Regions from separate parts of the Homo sapiens genome. Here region 1 is linked to region 2. Evidence: promoter capture Hi-C in 16 types of primary human blood cells and fetal thymus (Javierre and others, 2016). All regions are on one chromosome and are shown on one strand. The core of a region is centred on a gene start or on the middle of the fragment in contact, and the rest is flanking DNA. Distances in the headings are between cores, read along the strand shown.

The links. Contacts are between HindIII fragments. The CHiCAGO score rates a contact against its expected background, and 5 or more counts as called.
Region 1: a fragment that was not itself captured here is called in contact with the fragment with the promoter of FAM3C in region 2 in 1 of 17 cell types (non-activated CD4 T cells); the score reaches 5.6 in non-activated CD4 T cells.

The regions. Positions count from the first base shown.
Region 1 is chr7:123,545,133-123,552,309 of GRCh38, reverse strand. It overlaps NDUFA5 (NADH:ubiquinone oxidoreductase subunit A5), which reads left to right. Exons shown (of 5, transcript NM_005000.5): 3 at 1,724-1,840; 4 at 6,634-6,699. Among named protein-coding and RNA genes, the nearest start is that of NDUFA5, 9.1 kb to the left of the region's middle. The HindIII fragment of the contact is 884 bases long and covers 3,541-4,424 here.
Region 2 is chr7:121,390,512-121,397,788 of GRCh38, reverse strand. It overlaps FAM3C (FAM3 metabolism regulating signaling molecule C), which reads left to right and starts at 1,481. Exons shown (of 10, transcript NM_014888.3): 1 at 1,481-1,627. RefSeq lists silencers at 1,117-1,176, 1,217-2,046 and enhancers at 1,274-1,858, 1,859-2,444. The HindIII fragment of the contact is 3,372 bases long and covers 1-3,112 here.

The DNA.
Region 1 (7,177 bases), core at 2,733-5,232, 2.2 Mb before region 2:
TTATGGCTGCATAGTATTCCATGTTGTATATGTGTCATATTTTCTTTATCCAGTCTATCACTGGGCATTTGGGTTGGTTCCAAGTCTTTGCTATTATGAATAGTGAGGACTGCACACATTTTTTTTTTTTAATTGAAAAAAAAGGTTGCTCTTTAGGAGAAGGGTTTGTATACTTGTAATTATTGAGACTTACTCCTGGAGTGATCATGTCTTGTTTGTTTCAACTGTTCTGGTTCATACCTGTGTTTTGGCGTAATGATTAATAGGTATCTTTTCACTGTTATAAGTGTCCAAGTTTGGATGATAAACTAAGTGTCCACCCTATTGATAACATTTTTTCTTTTATTCTATATTAATAGTCCCCTGTTCTCATCTGTATTTCTCTAGACACTGATACATTTTTGTCAGGAAAGATGAAAATTTAAAACCTGAATTTTAGATCATATTAAAACTTAATTAAAATGCTATATTAAAAACTAATATATGCATTATATATTTAAATTGGAGAGGATCAACTTCTTACTGATTTCTATACTGAAGTTTAAGTTCAGTGTGCTTCAGTACATGCTATGCATTGACTCAATTCTCTTGCTACTTTTTCGGTTGAGCCTTTTATGCAGACTTTATGTCGTAACTCATTCATAATCAGAAGCAAGAACACTGAAGTATTATGACCGTATTTAGTTAAATTTGATCATACAGATGTAATGATTATATGTGTTTATTTCTACAGAAATTCAAATAAGAAAAATTAAAAAAAAAAATTTGCAGTGCTTCGGACCTCACTTTGAAAAATACTGATTCAGGCTGGGTGGGCTCACGCCTGTAATCCCAGCACTTTGGGAGGCTGAGGTGGGCGGATCACCTGAAGTCAGGAGTTTGAGACCATCCTGGCCAACATGGCAAAACCCTGTCTCTACTAAAAATAGAAAAAATAGCCAGGTATGGTGGCGGGTACCTGTAATCCCAGCTACTTGGGAGGCTGAGGCAGGAGAATCACTTGACCCCAGGAGGTGGAGGTTGTAGTGAGCCAAGTTCACGCCATTGTACTCCAGCCTGGGCTATAAGAGCGAAACTCCGTTTCAAAAAAAAAAAAAAGAAAGAAAGAAAAATACTGATTTAGTAAATGACTTGATTTCCAAAAAGGTCATTAGCAATAAGTTGTTTTGTTTCTGACCAGTCTGGCCAACATGGCAAAACCCCGTCTCTACCAAAAATTAGCCAGGCGTGGTGGCGGCCACCTGTAATCCTAGCTACTGTGGAGGCAGAGGCAGGAGAATCGCTTGAACCTGGGAGGTGGAGGTTGCAATGAGCCAAGATCATGCCATTGTACTCCAGCCTGGGCAACAAGTGAAACTTCGTCTCAAAAGAAAGAAAGAAAGAAAAATACTGATTTGGTAAATGATTCGATTTCCCAAAAGGTCCTTAGCAATAAGTTAGTTTTGTTTCTACTTGTTATCATACCTTTGACTTATCTAGAACTTGTTATACACAGAAAATACAGAATGTTCCCATGTTTATATACAGGTTTTTCCTAAGTTATAAAGGGTGTAGATAGGGCACAGACATAAAGAAGTCAGAGCAAAGAAGAGTTAAATTAAAAAAAAAAAGCAAAAAAAAAAAACAGATGTGAGTTTTGTTTGTTTTGTCTTTGAGACAAGTGTTCCATTAAGTCTTTGGTAATATTTTAACCTATGGAAATTTGTATGGTTTGTCTTTTCAGAGGCTAAGAATATTGTACACAAAGATTCTTGATGTTCTTGAGGAAATCCCTAAAAATGCAGCATATAGAAAGTATACAGAACAGATTACAAATGAGAAGCTGGCTATGGTTAAAGCGGTAAGTAGCTAAGTCAGTTTTGTTGTCTTGTGTAACATTTAACCAAAAAAGTTTAGTTCCTTATTTTTTATATATTCGACACACTTTTCTTCTATTCTCCTTCCTTGAATGCTCTTTTCCCATCATTCCTCCCTTTTATTCAGCAAACTCTTGTTTATTGAGTGTTTTCTATATGCAGGCCTCTGTTACATACTGGAGTTTGAGACTAGGATCAGATCCTTCCTTGAAGTAACATTGTAGCTGTTCCTTTTACCTCTCTTCACTATTTAGTCCTTTATTGATCTTTTGCTTTTTATCTTGGATATATCAATCTTGATCTCCTTTTTCTAATCTTAGAGAACAATAAAAGCAAAACAAAAAAGGGCATTTTTTTTTCAAAGAAACCTGTCAAAAAGACTAGACTGTTATTAAGTAGCAGTTAATAAAAGTCTAGACTGCTGATTCATACCAAACTATATTGTACTATTGTTAAATTTTCACACTAGCAATCATTAAATGGACTTTATGTAATTATCTAAAATAGTGCTTAGAAACTCTGAAGGTAATTTATATACATGCATAAGTGATCCTAGTCACATATATTTCTTCTTATTAGATTACCAGACTATATAGTTCAAAGAGAATTCCTATCTTTCGTTAGGTATGCAACAAAACAATGCAGTTTGTATTATATCGTATTTTGTATTGTATTATATGATGGGTCTCACTCTGTTACCCAGTCTAGAGTGCAGTGGCACGATCACAGCTCACTGCAGCCTTGACCTGCCAGTCTCAAGCAATCCTCCTACCTCAGCCTCCCAAGTAGCTGAGACCACAGGCACTCACCATCATGCCCAGCTAATTTTTAAAATTTTTTGTAGAGGCGGAGTTTCACTGTGTTGCCCTAGCTGATCTCAAGCTCCTGGCTTCAAGTGACCTTCCTGCCTTAGCCTTCCAAAGTGCTGGGATCACAGGCATGAGCTACCTGCACCCGGTGCCTCACCTATTTTATCATCATCTTTCAAATAGCCTCAAATGTTTTTAGCTTGTTCCTATCTTAAAAATAAAAAAAACTGTATGCTTGTATTTTCCTTTACTTATTGTCCTATTTTTGTTTTCTCCCATAGCCAGTTTCAACCAAAGAAGAGTTTACTCTCATACTTCTTTACTTACTGGTTCCAAAATCCTTTTCTCTGCTATTTAAACTGCCTTATAACTAATTGATCTGTTTGTACTTCCATTATACTTCATTACATGCTCCACCATACAGCCAATAATAGACTGATTTTTTTTTCAATATGTAAATCTTGTGATGGTACAGTTGTCCCTTGGTATCCATGAGGGATTGGTTCCAGGATTCCCATGGATGCCAAAATACAAGGATGCTCAAGTCCCTTATATAAAATGGCATAGTATTTGCATATAACCTATGCACATCCTCTTGTATACTTTAAATCATCTCTAGGTTACTTATAATACTACAATGTAATGCTGTGTAAGTAGTTATACTGTATTTTAAAAATTGCTGTATTGTTATTTTTATTGTGTTTTTTTGAATATTTTCCATCTGTGGTTGGTTGAATCCATTCTTAGTTGAATCCACAGATGCAGATCCTGAGGGCCAACTGTGCTGTCTTGCTTAAAATCTTACTGTGGTTTTCTGTTCAGTGTTTCTCAAAGGCTGAGTTTAAGGATTTATGTTGAGCTGGTTGTATGAAGCTTGCTTAGCTACCTTTATCTGCATGATTTTGATGTGTGGCCATGTTTGGGAACCACTGGCCTAACAGGGTAAAAACATGGTATAGAAGGCCTTCTAAGTTCTGGCTCTTGGTTATTTTCTCAATCTGATCCTGTTGCTTCCTGTTTTATACTCTATACTTAAGCAGTACCAAACTGCTGGCAGTTCTGTGGATTCCTTGCATTTTTATTTTTGTGTTCATTTGTATTTTCTCATTTCCTGGAATGCCTTTACGTTGTTTGGTAGTTCTTACTTTTTCTTCATAAATCATCACTTCTTCTGTGAAACCTTTTCTTACTTTCTTAAGTAGAGTTTGACAACTTTGTTACCTCCTTTCCATTGTACCTTCATGCTGTATTATGTCTCCACCAGCCATAAGCTACTTGTTAATGATATTGGATTCAACTTTGTATCCTTAGACTCTAGCATGGTACCTGGAACATAAGGTTCCTTAGAAATGTGTCTTTATCCCAAAGGCTAGATATAACCCCAAACACTTAACAGTTGTATCTCTGATTCCTGTTTTTGGTAAAATTATCACAGATTTTTAACCCTGCATACAGCCACACACAAAATCTTTAGTGAATATTGCCATTATTATAAAATATCTATTTACTAAGCCTAAGGTGGAAATAAAAGTAACTTTTTTTTTCAGATTATTACTAGGGAGATAGTACTATTTTGGTGAAAAGCGTTGTTTGTGTCCCTGTCCAAGATTTTCATCTTAGTTCTAATACTTATTTGTGGAGTGACTTGGCATATTGCTAGTTTTCTCGGTCTCAATTTCATCATCTATAACGTGGGTATAATAATACCCACCTCGAACACTTTTTGTTAGAACCGAATGAGGTAATGCACGTAAAAGCTTAACATAGTCCCAAGTATATAGTGAGCATTCAGTACATGGTACCTTATCAAGTTTAATAGCATTATGCCATTGGTGACTAAAAATCACATTATTCACTATCGGTAAGACAAATTTTGAACTGTTCACCTAACACAGGCTTTTTCTGAAATGAAAGTGTCGTTGAACTTTCCTTGCCTTCTTTACCTTCACTCTCCTGAGTCTCTTATAACAGTGACCAGCTTCCCTGTTTTGTTTTTGATTTTTGGTCTCTCATATGAGTTAATTCCCTGTTAAATAATCTGTCTTAAACATGCTTATTACTTTTTCCCCTTTTCTCCCCCTTTCAGCTGTTTTTTATGTATTCACTTCTTTAACCAAGAAACATTTATTGAATGCCATGTATGGTTCTAGGCATGGAAACTTGTGCCTAGTTGGCACAAAACAGATAAAAATCCTTTCCTTCTTGGAGATTACATGTTAGTGATGGGAGACCAAAAGAAAAAAAAAAAGTAAAAACTGAGTAAAGACGTACATAGTGTGTTAGAAAATAGTAAGTGCAGTGAAGGAAAATAAAACAAGGAAAATGTGTGCCATGGTGGGGATAGGGGATGTTACACTATGTATTAATTTCGTATGGCTGCTGTAATATTCCCACAAACTTGGTGGCTTAAAACAATGTAAGTTTATTTTATTAGACTTCTGGAGGCCAGAAGTTGGAAATCAACATCAGGGACCCAAATCAAGATGGTGTTGTCAGGGCTGTGCTTCCTTTGGAGGATATTGGGTAGAATCTGTTCTTGCCTCTTTCAGCTTCTGGTGGCTTTTGGCATTTATTGGCTTGTGGTCTCATCACTGCAATTTCTGCCTTTGTGGTTACATTACCTTTTCCTTTTCTGTGTGTAATATCCCTCTGCCTCTCTCTTATAAGGACACTTATAATTGCAGTTAGGGACTATATGGATAATTCAGGAAAATCTCCCCATGTCAGCATCCTTAACTTGATCATATATGTGAAGTCTTTGCTGTATAAAGTAACACTCACAGTTTCTAGAAATTAATACATGTATATCTTTTGTGGTATTTTTCAGCCTATCATAATGCAAATTATCAGTAGTTAATCAATAAGAAGGTGTTATTTGAGCAAAGATTTGAAAAGTGGTGAAGAAACAAGTGATGCAGATACCCTGGGCCATCCAGCAAGATACCCTGAGGCAGTAACATATCACGTCTTGTGTTGAAAAGCAAAATGTATTATTTTCTCCCTCTTTATTCCATTTATTGGCCAGAAAAACACCCTGAAAAGACAAAGCCTTATTTACATATGTGGGTATATTTACAGAGCATGATTTCTGGCTCAAAAAGCTCAGTTTACTAGAAAATAACTAAATGTCATTGAATGTTCTAGGTACTATATTTATTAACATTTTGTTCTTAAAAACTTCTATTAAATAATTATATACATTACAAATGTGTAGAAAAAAAGGACTTTTCCAGAACAACAAAACCCTTGCCTCTTCCCCTTCAATTTACTACTTGTAAAGTTAATCTCTATTTGGACTTCTTTTTGCCTGTTTTTGAATTTTATATAAATGAAATCATTAGTATGTACTGTCTTATACATACTGTACTCTGGCTTGTGCTTAATACTGTGGTTAAGAGAATCACCTATATTGTTGCATACAGTTTATTCATTTTCATTGCTGTGAAGTATTATATCCAAATATTATAATTAATTGATCCATTCTATTACAGATGATCATTTGGGTTATTTCTAGTTTGGGGCTATAATTTGTGCTGCTGTGAATATTCTCAAACATGTTTTTTAAAAAATATATTATGCATTTCTGTTTGGCATTATGCCTAGAAGTGTAATTTCTGGGTCATAGAGTAGCATTTATTTCTAATTCTAATGCTCTCAGAGGAAATACAGGAAATATTAAGAAAGCAAAGTCATATTTTAAAATCTGTTTTAGGAAGACTGAATTTGACATTGTATTTCTGTCCCTTGATCAGCATGTCAATAAACATTTAGCACTTTTCAATATTAAGACAGAAAAGCAATGAAATAGCAGAGGTGAAATGAATTTTCACCAAATATTTAGTAAAAAGAGTATGATGAAAGAAAAGTTGTATTTTTAAGTGTTTTTATATAGGAATTTTAAAATATATAGGATATTGAAACATTCAGTTAGTATGCTTCTTTAATTTTTTTTCTCCCTGAAATTATAGGAACCAGATGTTAAAAAATTAGAAGACCAACTTCAAGGCGGTCAATTAGAAGAGGTGATTCTTCAGGTAAAGAAAAAGTTGACTATTTAGGTGTTTGGTTTCATAGAGACACACAACTGACGTTCTAGAATGAAAGGAAAACTAAATTTCCTTGTTTATATCAACTCGTCAAATATGTAAGACTAATCACATATAGAAAATGTGGTGCTTCTCATGTGTATGTTGATTATAGTATTTATTGTTGATTATAGCATGAATTTATGAGACTTCTGTTAGAAGCCTGGAGTTTGACACTCTTTTAATTTAATTAGCATGTTCTCCTTGGCCTAACCTTAGTTTAAATTGGTAGCACAATATTACTGTTGTTTTAATAGTTGTATCTTATTTTAAGAGTGTGGCATATTTTTAGTAGGGAAAAATACAGACATTTTGAATTATAAAATTAAAATGTACTTTTATTTTTATTTTTGGTTCTTGAGCATTTGAGCAAGTTAAAAAACAATTGCATAGTATATTTGAGAGCTTAATTCTACATTATTTCCCA
Region 2 (7,277 bases), core at 232-2,731:
CTTTGAACTGTTTTTTTTTTCTATTTTTCAGTGAATCAACAGCAACAAAATGTTGGTTGTGACCCATTGTTATTAATTTCATTACCTACCAAAGGGTTCTAAGCTATATCTTATGGTCAGTGGAGAATAGGCTACTAACACATTAAACTTTATGCACAGGAATTGTTTCAGGTGTGGTGCTATAAGAATATGTCACATGTAATTTCCAATCTGGTTGGCTCGGTTACAGAGCAGATTGCTCTTTCAGAAATACACCGTGACCTCCCTACTCAAGAGGCTTCATAAACTCTTTCAGTGAGACATAGCAGTCTAGGAGAGGCATGTGTACAGTAAGTGTTATGATTTTTTGGTACTATAATAAGCAAAGTGCCTTTTTGTTTATTTGGAGCTACATGAAGCTAGGCCGGAATTCCAGCTTCATAACTTACTATCTTGTATTTTTGAGCAAGATATTTAAACTCAGTTTTGGAGTCTTAGTTTTTTGATTTAAGTAATACACAAATAGCATAATATTGGCACATGGAAGACAATGAGAATTCATTTCATGCTTTCTCCCCTGATCACGGATCACAAACTCCAGAATTCATAGTTACTATTAGTTTGTGTGTTTTATATTTTTGGAGGAAAGCTAAAATTTGGTAGATTATTAATTCTATATTAACACACTATAGTCAAACCCTATTTTTAAATGCAATTTAATTTCTGCAACCACTGATGATCCCAATATTCTGTCAAATACTAGGTAACAGTTATTCATTATTTTAGAATATGGATCTGAATTATGAAATAATTTTGCATTCTAAGGTCTTATGTAGTAAGATTTGGATTAACTTCCCAATTATCAACACAATTGTAGGAAATCTCCTGAGAAAAAATATTTCTAACGATTGTGTATCTTATAATTTAAAAAATAAACGTGACTTGGAAAATGCAAGGACTACTGTTCTTCTTGGGTGGTGCATTAAAGGTGATCAGAATTCTAATGACGCTGGACAGTAGGATTTTCAGAATCAGTTTCCTAGGGTTCAAGAAGTCAAACGGCAAATAACCCAAGGTCCTTGGTTGATCTGACCATCTCAGCTATCTCAAGATATATAAGATGACCTAACTGGCGCATCTCTAGGATGGGTGGGTCATTTAAAATGTTCTGCCCTTGAGGCTGGGATTTTGTGCGTGTAAACGGTGGGGAGACGGCGGTGACACATTTTTCTCCCTCCCGTAGTGCCACCCGGCGCAGGGCCGCTGCGGCGGCGGCAGCTCCCACGTGGCAAGTTCAGATTGTGCAGCGCCTGGCCGGGGGCGGTGGGCGGGACCGCAGACCCCTCCCTCCGCTCTCCGGCCCTTCCCTCTGGCCGGCCCGGGCGCCCGCTTGGTCCTCCACCGCCAGGGGGCGGGCGCGGCTTCCCGGCGGCGGGGGCCCATTGGTCGCGGCCGGGAAGCGTGGGAGGAGGCCCAGCGGCGAGCTGGCTTTCTCCTGGCCACTTGCCGGGGTGAGGGGCAGCCGGAGGAGTCCGAGAGGAAGCGGAGGCGCGAGCTGGAGGCGGCGGCTCCCGTCGGCCTCCGGCAGGACTGAGCGCTGGGAGGCCGGAAGGCGGGCGCGCGCGGCGGAGAGGCGGGCGGGAGGCCGGTGAGACGGCTGGGAGGCGGACGGAGCCGGGGCTCAGGTTCGGGGAGGGATGGAGGAGGCCGGGGAAGCCAGACGCCCACCTACGACTTCAGCCTCCGCGCACTGCGGTCACCGGCCGGGGGCGGGCCCCGGGCCCGGCCGCGTTGTCACGGCGTGTCCGGACGTTGGAGAGGGCGCAGGCGGGACTGGGGTCCCGGAGAGCCGCTGGCCGGGGTTCCCGGCCGCCGCCCCGGCGTGGGCATCCCCGGGCTCCGCGGAGACGGGGCGGCGTCTGCACCTGGCGCTGGCACTCGGCGCCCCGGCCTGGGGCGGGCACCTGGGTCGCATCTTCCCCAGGTTGGCTGTGGCTCGCGCCCCTGCAGCGTGTAGGCTGAGAGCTCCGAGAGGTGGGGACGGAGTTGGGTGTTGCATTCCAACTCCATAGGGGGCCGTTTTGACTCACTTGTAAAGTTTTAGTGTCGCCTATACTAGAGGTACTTTTGGTTTTTTACAAGCTATCCAGCCCTTTGATGTTTGGTGTCTCTTCTTTTTCTTCCTATTTGTTTGCTACTGCTCTCACAGCTCGGGACCACGGATGATGATTAGTGGCCCTAGATCTGAATATGTGAGTGACGGATTGGCAATTTGAGATTGAGAGCTCCAGCTGTTTTACTTGTGGGAGGAGCGGTTTCCATCATCCTCTACCTTTTTTTTTTTTAAGAAAAAATATTATTGCCTGTAATATAGAACTGCTATCTAATTGATAGGACTTTTCCTTTGTTTCTTTTTGGCCAACATGGTGAAACCTCGTCTCTACTAAAAAATAAAAAAATTAGCCAGGTGTATGTATCCATATATATATATGTATGTATGTATCCATATATATGTATGTATCCATATATATGTATGTATCCATATATATGTATGTATCCATATATATGTATGTATGTATCCATATATATGTATGTATCCGTATATATGTATGTATCCATGTATCCATATATATGTATGTATCCATATATATATGGATACAATGACATAAATAATATTAGATTGCTTACTGTGTACTAGGCACTGCCAAATGGTTTCGTGTGCTCATTTATTCTCACAACAGCTCAGTGAATAAGTCCCTTTATCTTTTCTAGTTTTACAGATGGAAATATGAACTCCCGAGAGTAAAGGTCAATGCTGATAGCAGAGGCCCCGACCCCTTGGACTTGTGGCCAATTTGCAGTTACGTTTTCTTAAGTCTTGGGAACCGTTACTATTAGTCATACAGTATCTTACAGAGTACCAGCAGATCTCTATTGAATTTAGAAAATAAAAGTTAATCACTTACTGAAAGCCATTTAACAAGAAATTGGCAGAATCAGCAAATCAGCATCCGGTTTTGGTCACTTCATCGACCTGTACCTCTTTCTAGAGGCTACTAGTAGTCTCTTGTGTTTCTTGGCTGTTTACCAATAAAGTCACAAGGTTTTCAGTTTTATACAGGTATTAGAAGCTTTGTTTCACAGATTCTTGTAATGTTTTCTCAACTCAATAAAGACTAGCATTTCTTCATAGGAAGAAATAAGAAGAGTTGGAGCCAATAAAAGGAGTTCAGTCCAGCAGTTCTCAACCTGAGGACCTCTCTGAATTACCAATGGGAACTTTGTAAGAGGGACACAGGACAGGTTCCTCAAAATCCTCATTGTAAGGGGCTTCTGTTTCAAAAGGGAGTAAAAATAAGACACTACTGGCTTAAAGTGACTTTAAAAATAAACTTAATGGATGTTTTATTACAATTACAGATTTTTAATGTGGATTGCTGCCTTAAGCATTGTCAACTAATCTTTCATAATTTATGAAGATACATTAAAAAGGAAAAGGAAATTGGAAAAGACAGCCAAAAGGCTAAGAGGCTATGGAATGGCAAAAAGTAATGTTCCCTGAGGGGGTATCAGAAGACTCATATATTTTCCACCATATATTTTAGGTTTTGAACGATTCATTTTTCAAAAATTTTTATACTCTTAAAAATACTGGAGTGCCTACCATGTACCAGTAATTGTAGATATCATGGATACTATGAATAAGACAGCCTGGGCACTCACAAAGCTACTTTATTTTCTCTAAAGCAGGGAATCTTTTTTATTTTTATTTTTATGCCCATTTCTTAAAGCTGAAAGGTGCAAGACCCAAATAGCAAAAGATTTTTATGTTAGCGCTGAGCTAGATAGATTTTTGTGCGACCTTGGTATAATAGCAAAAGTTTGTCTTGAATTTAGTCCAGAAGCGTCTCTGTTCTTGGGATCAGATGATCAGGATTTGAAGCATTGATTCTGTATTTAGTTATTTCAAGAGTGGCATTGACTAAATTACTTAATATCATGCAGTCCTTTTTAATCTGATTGAGTAGACTGAACCAGGTAATTTCCCAAAATCTTTGAACTTTTAAAAGGTTTTGTACTTTCTTTTAATGCAATTCTTTGAGACACAATCGGCTGACTTCCTCTCAGAGGAGGAAATTAAGTGTTGTAATACCCCTAAGTCTTTCCAGTGTACCCATTAATATTCTTTTTCTTCTTCATTGGCCTGCTCCATTTGATTGAAGCTATTCTTATATTTCCCTTATTTTTAATCTAATTTTGAAAATCCGCTATTCATGATTTTTCTAACTTCAGTGAGTTTTTTCTTCCAATTTTCTTTTTTAAATTAAATTCCTGTAACAGAATTTTTCATTTTATTTTTAAATTATTTACAAAGACAGGGTACCCCACTGTTCTGCAGACTGGAGTGCAGTGGTGTGATCATAACTCACTGTAGCCTTGAACTCCACCTTAGCCTGTGGAGTAGCTAGGTTTACAGGCATGTGCCACCACACACGACTAATTTTATAATTTTTTTTCTTAAAAGACGGGATCTTACTATTTTGCACAGGCTGGCCAAATCTGCCCTCAGGTGATCCTTCGACCTCAGCCTCCCAAAGCTCTGGGATTACAGACATGAGCCCCTATGCCTAGCCAGATTTTCCATTTTAAAGTGTGGCATTTAGCACGTTCATGATGTTATGAACCGTCACGTTTCTAAAACATTTTCATCACCCCAAAAGGAAACCCCATATTCATTAAGCAGTTGTTCATTCCCTTCTCCCTGCCAATCCTCGGCAACCACTGATCTGCTTTCTGCCCCCATAAATTTATCTATTCTGGATTTTCCTAAAAATTGAATAATTCAATATGTGTTCTTTTGTGTCTGGCTTCTTTCACTTAGCATGTTTTAGAGGTTCGTCCTCTAAATCAGCAGGTATCAGTACTTCATTCCTTTTTAAGGGTGAGTAATATTCCATTCTATATTCCATTCATATACACCACATTACATATATATCATTTCGTTGATACGTACTGCATTTTGTTTATTCATTTGTTAAATTTTTGTGTGCTATTCAGAAAGTTATATGAACATCTCTAAATTGATTTTCGTCATAATCTCTACAAGGCTTGCTAAGGTAGTGTTATGGTGTCAGGTGTGCTACCTAACATATCATTCATTACTTGCAGTTAAGTGATTGTTAAATGAGTTTTGAAAGACGCAAGGTCAACAAAAATGGATTTTTAAGTTGGTTCAGTTGATACGTGGTGTGGTTTGGTTCTGCGTCCCCACTCAAATCTCATCTCAAATTGTAATCCCTGTGTGTCGAGGGAGGGAAGTGATTGCATCATGAGGGCGGCTTCCCCCATGTTGTTCTCGTGACAGTGAGTTCTTACAAGATCTGATGGTTTTACAAATGGAAGTTTTTCCTGCACTCTCTCTCTTCTCTCTCCTGCTGCCTTGTGAAAAAGGTGTCTGTTTCCCCTTAGCCTTCCTCCATGATTGTAAGTTTCCTGACACCTCCCCAGCCATGTGGGACTGTGAGTCAGTTAAACTTCTTTCCTTTATAGGTTACCCAGTCTTGGGTATTTCTTTATAACAGTGCAAAAACGGACTAATACAATACGTTTTCACAAAATTTTACAATAGAAGCATCTTTAGAGTTTATTTGAACAAACAATTCATGAATTGAGCAGCTCCAAACCAGATCTGGGAGCTCCACCAGGGGAATCCAGGAGGGAGGCTTTTATAGGAGGGTCACAGATGTAAAGCAAAGAAAATATTTGATTGGCTGCAGTTATACAGTTGTTTTATTTGGTCTGTCGTGTTGGAAGGTCCCCTAGATATGTAATTAGAAGTTTGTTGGATGTTTCTGATTGATTAAGCTTAAGTTCTCTTTTTCTTTAGCATAGGCATTTATAAGAAGTAACTTCATATTTTGCTTATGTTTGCAAATCAAGTGAGGTTGATGTCACTTATGAGGCCTAATTGGTTTTGTCTGCTCGGGGATTCTTCAGGCATGGTTTCCATTTTAATTTACTTCAGCAGTGCTAATTCTCATTCAGTTTTTGTGGTACAAATGGTGTGCCAATACTGCATTTCATCCAGGACCCTTGGGCGATGGAACCATTCTGTTTCTCCATGTCTTCATTTGGAGGGTGTGACTGATGGAATTATGTCTACCCTGGTGCACTTAAATTCTGCAGACTACTTCAAAACAGCATAAGTAGAGTGGATACCTAAGGGAATTCTTAAACACGTAGAACAGGAACCTATAACTTCTCATCTAGTACAATGTGAGATAGTTACATGAGATGAAGATAGCAGTTCTACTGTATGTAAATGTGTACCTTTCTCTAATCTCATTTTAGCAGTTTATGAGTGGGACACTTCATTACCCCATTTATGTTCAACCTCTAACAGTTAATATATTTCATTTTATTGTTGTCATTGTTTCTAAGAATAGCTATTTCTTTCTGTCCATCCATTCATTCATCTATCCATCTCTCCCTGGATGGTGTACTATAGGATTAAGGTAGCTTAGATCACAAGTGTTTAAACAATTGTAGAACTCATAGCAGGCAAAACTGAATGTCATTTTGTAGAGTTCTGTCTTGTTTTCTGTTTTGGGTATGTTTGTGGTCTTGGTTGCAGAAATCCAGTCACCATTTCATTTCGTTAAGTGGATTATAACTTTTTAAGCAAAATTCTGCTTTGGTAGATAATAAAAACTGCAAGAAAACATTTGAGTAATATTAAATCTAGTACTCTGGTTTAACCCCTGCAAACAGGAGTTCTTGATTATTTATTCCTCACCACATTTTCTCTGGATTTATCTGTTGCCCACCAAAACTGAAGACCCATTCTGGTGGCAGGTTGACTGTTCCAGAAAGAATGAAAAATCTTGTCATGTGAATTTTACTTTTGAACTTTTTTGGTTTAGATCTGCCTTACCTTCCCCCCCCCCCCCCCCCCCGCCCCACACAGCCTTTCCTGTGTGTGTGGATTGGTGTGCTGTAGATCTGAAGCTCTCAGATCTGAGCACGAATGACAGTCATCTGGGGAGCTTATTAAACATGCAAGAGCTTTAATCCCACTCCTAGGGATTCTGATTCTCCAGGTATGCAGTTGGCTCAGGAGTTTGCATTTTAAAAAACACACTAGTAATTCTGGTGTGCATGCTATAGGTAACCCTGTAGTAAGAGGTTCAAAGAACATATGATGTTTCATTGAATCTATGACGCCACAGATGGTAAGGGTCAGAATCTGGTAGCTTTCAGCTGCATGACTCCTAAGCCCTAATTTCCAATCTTGTGGC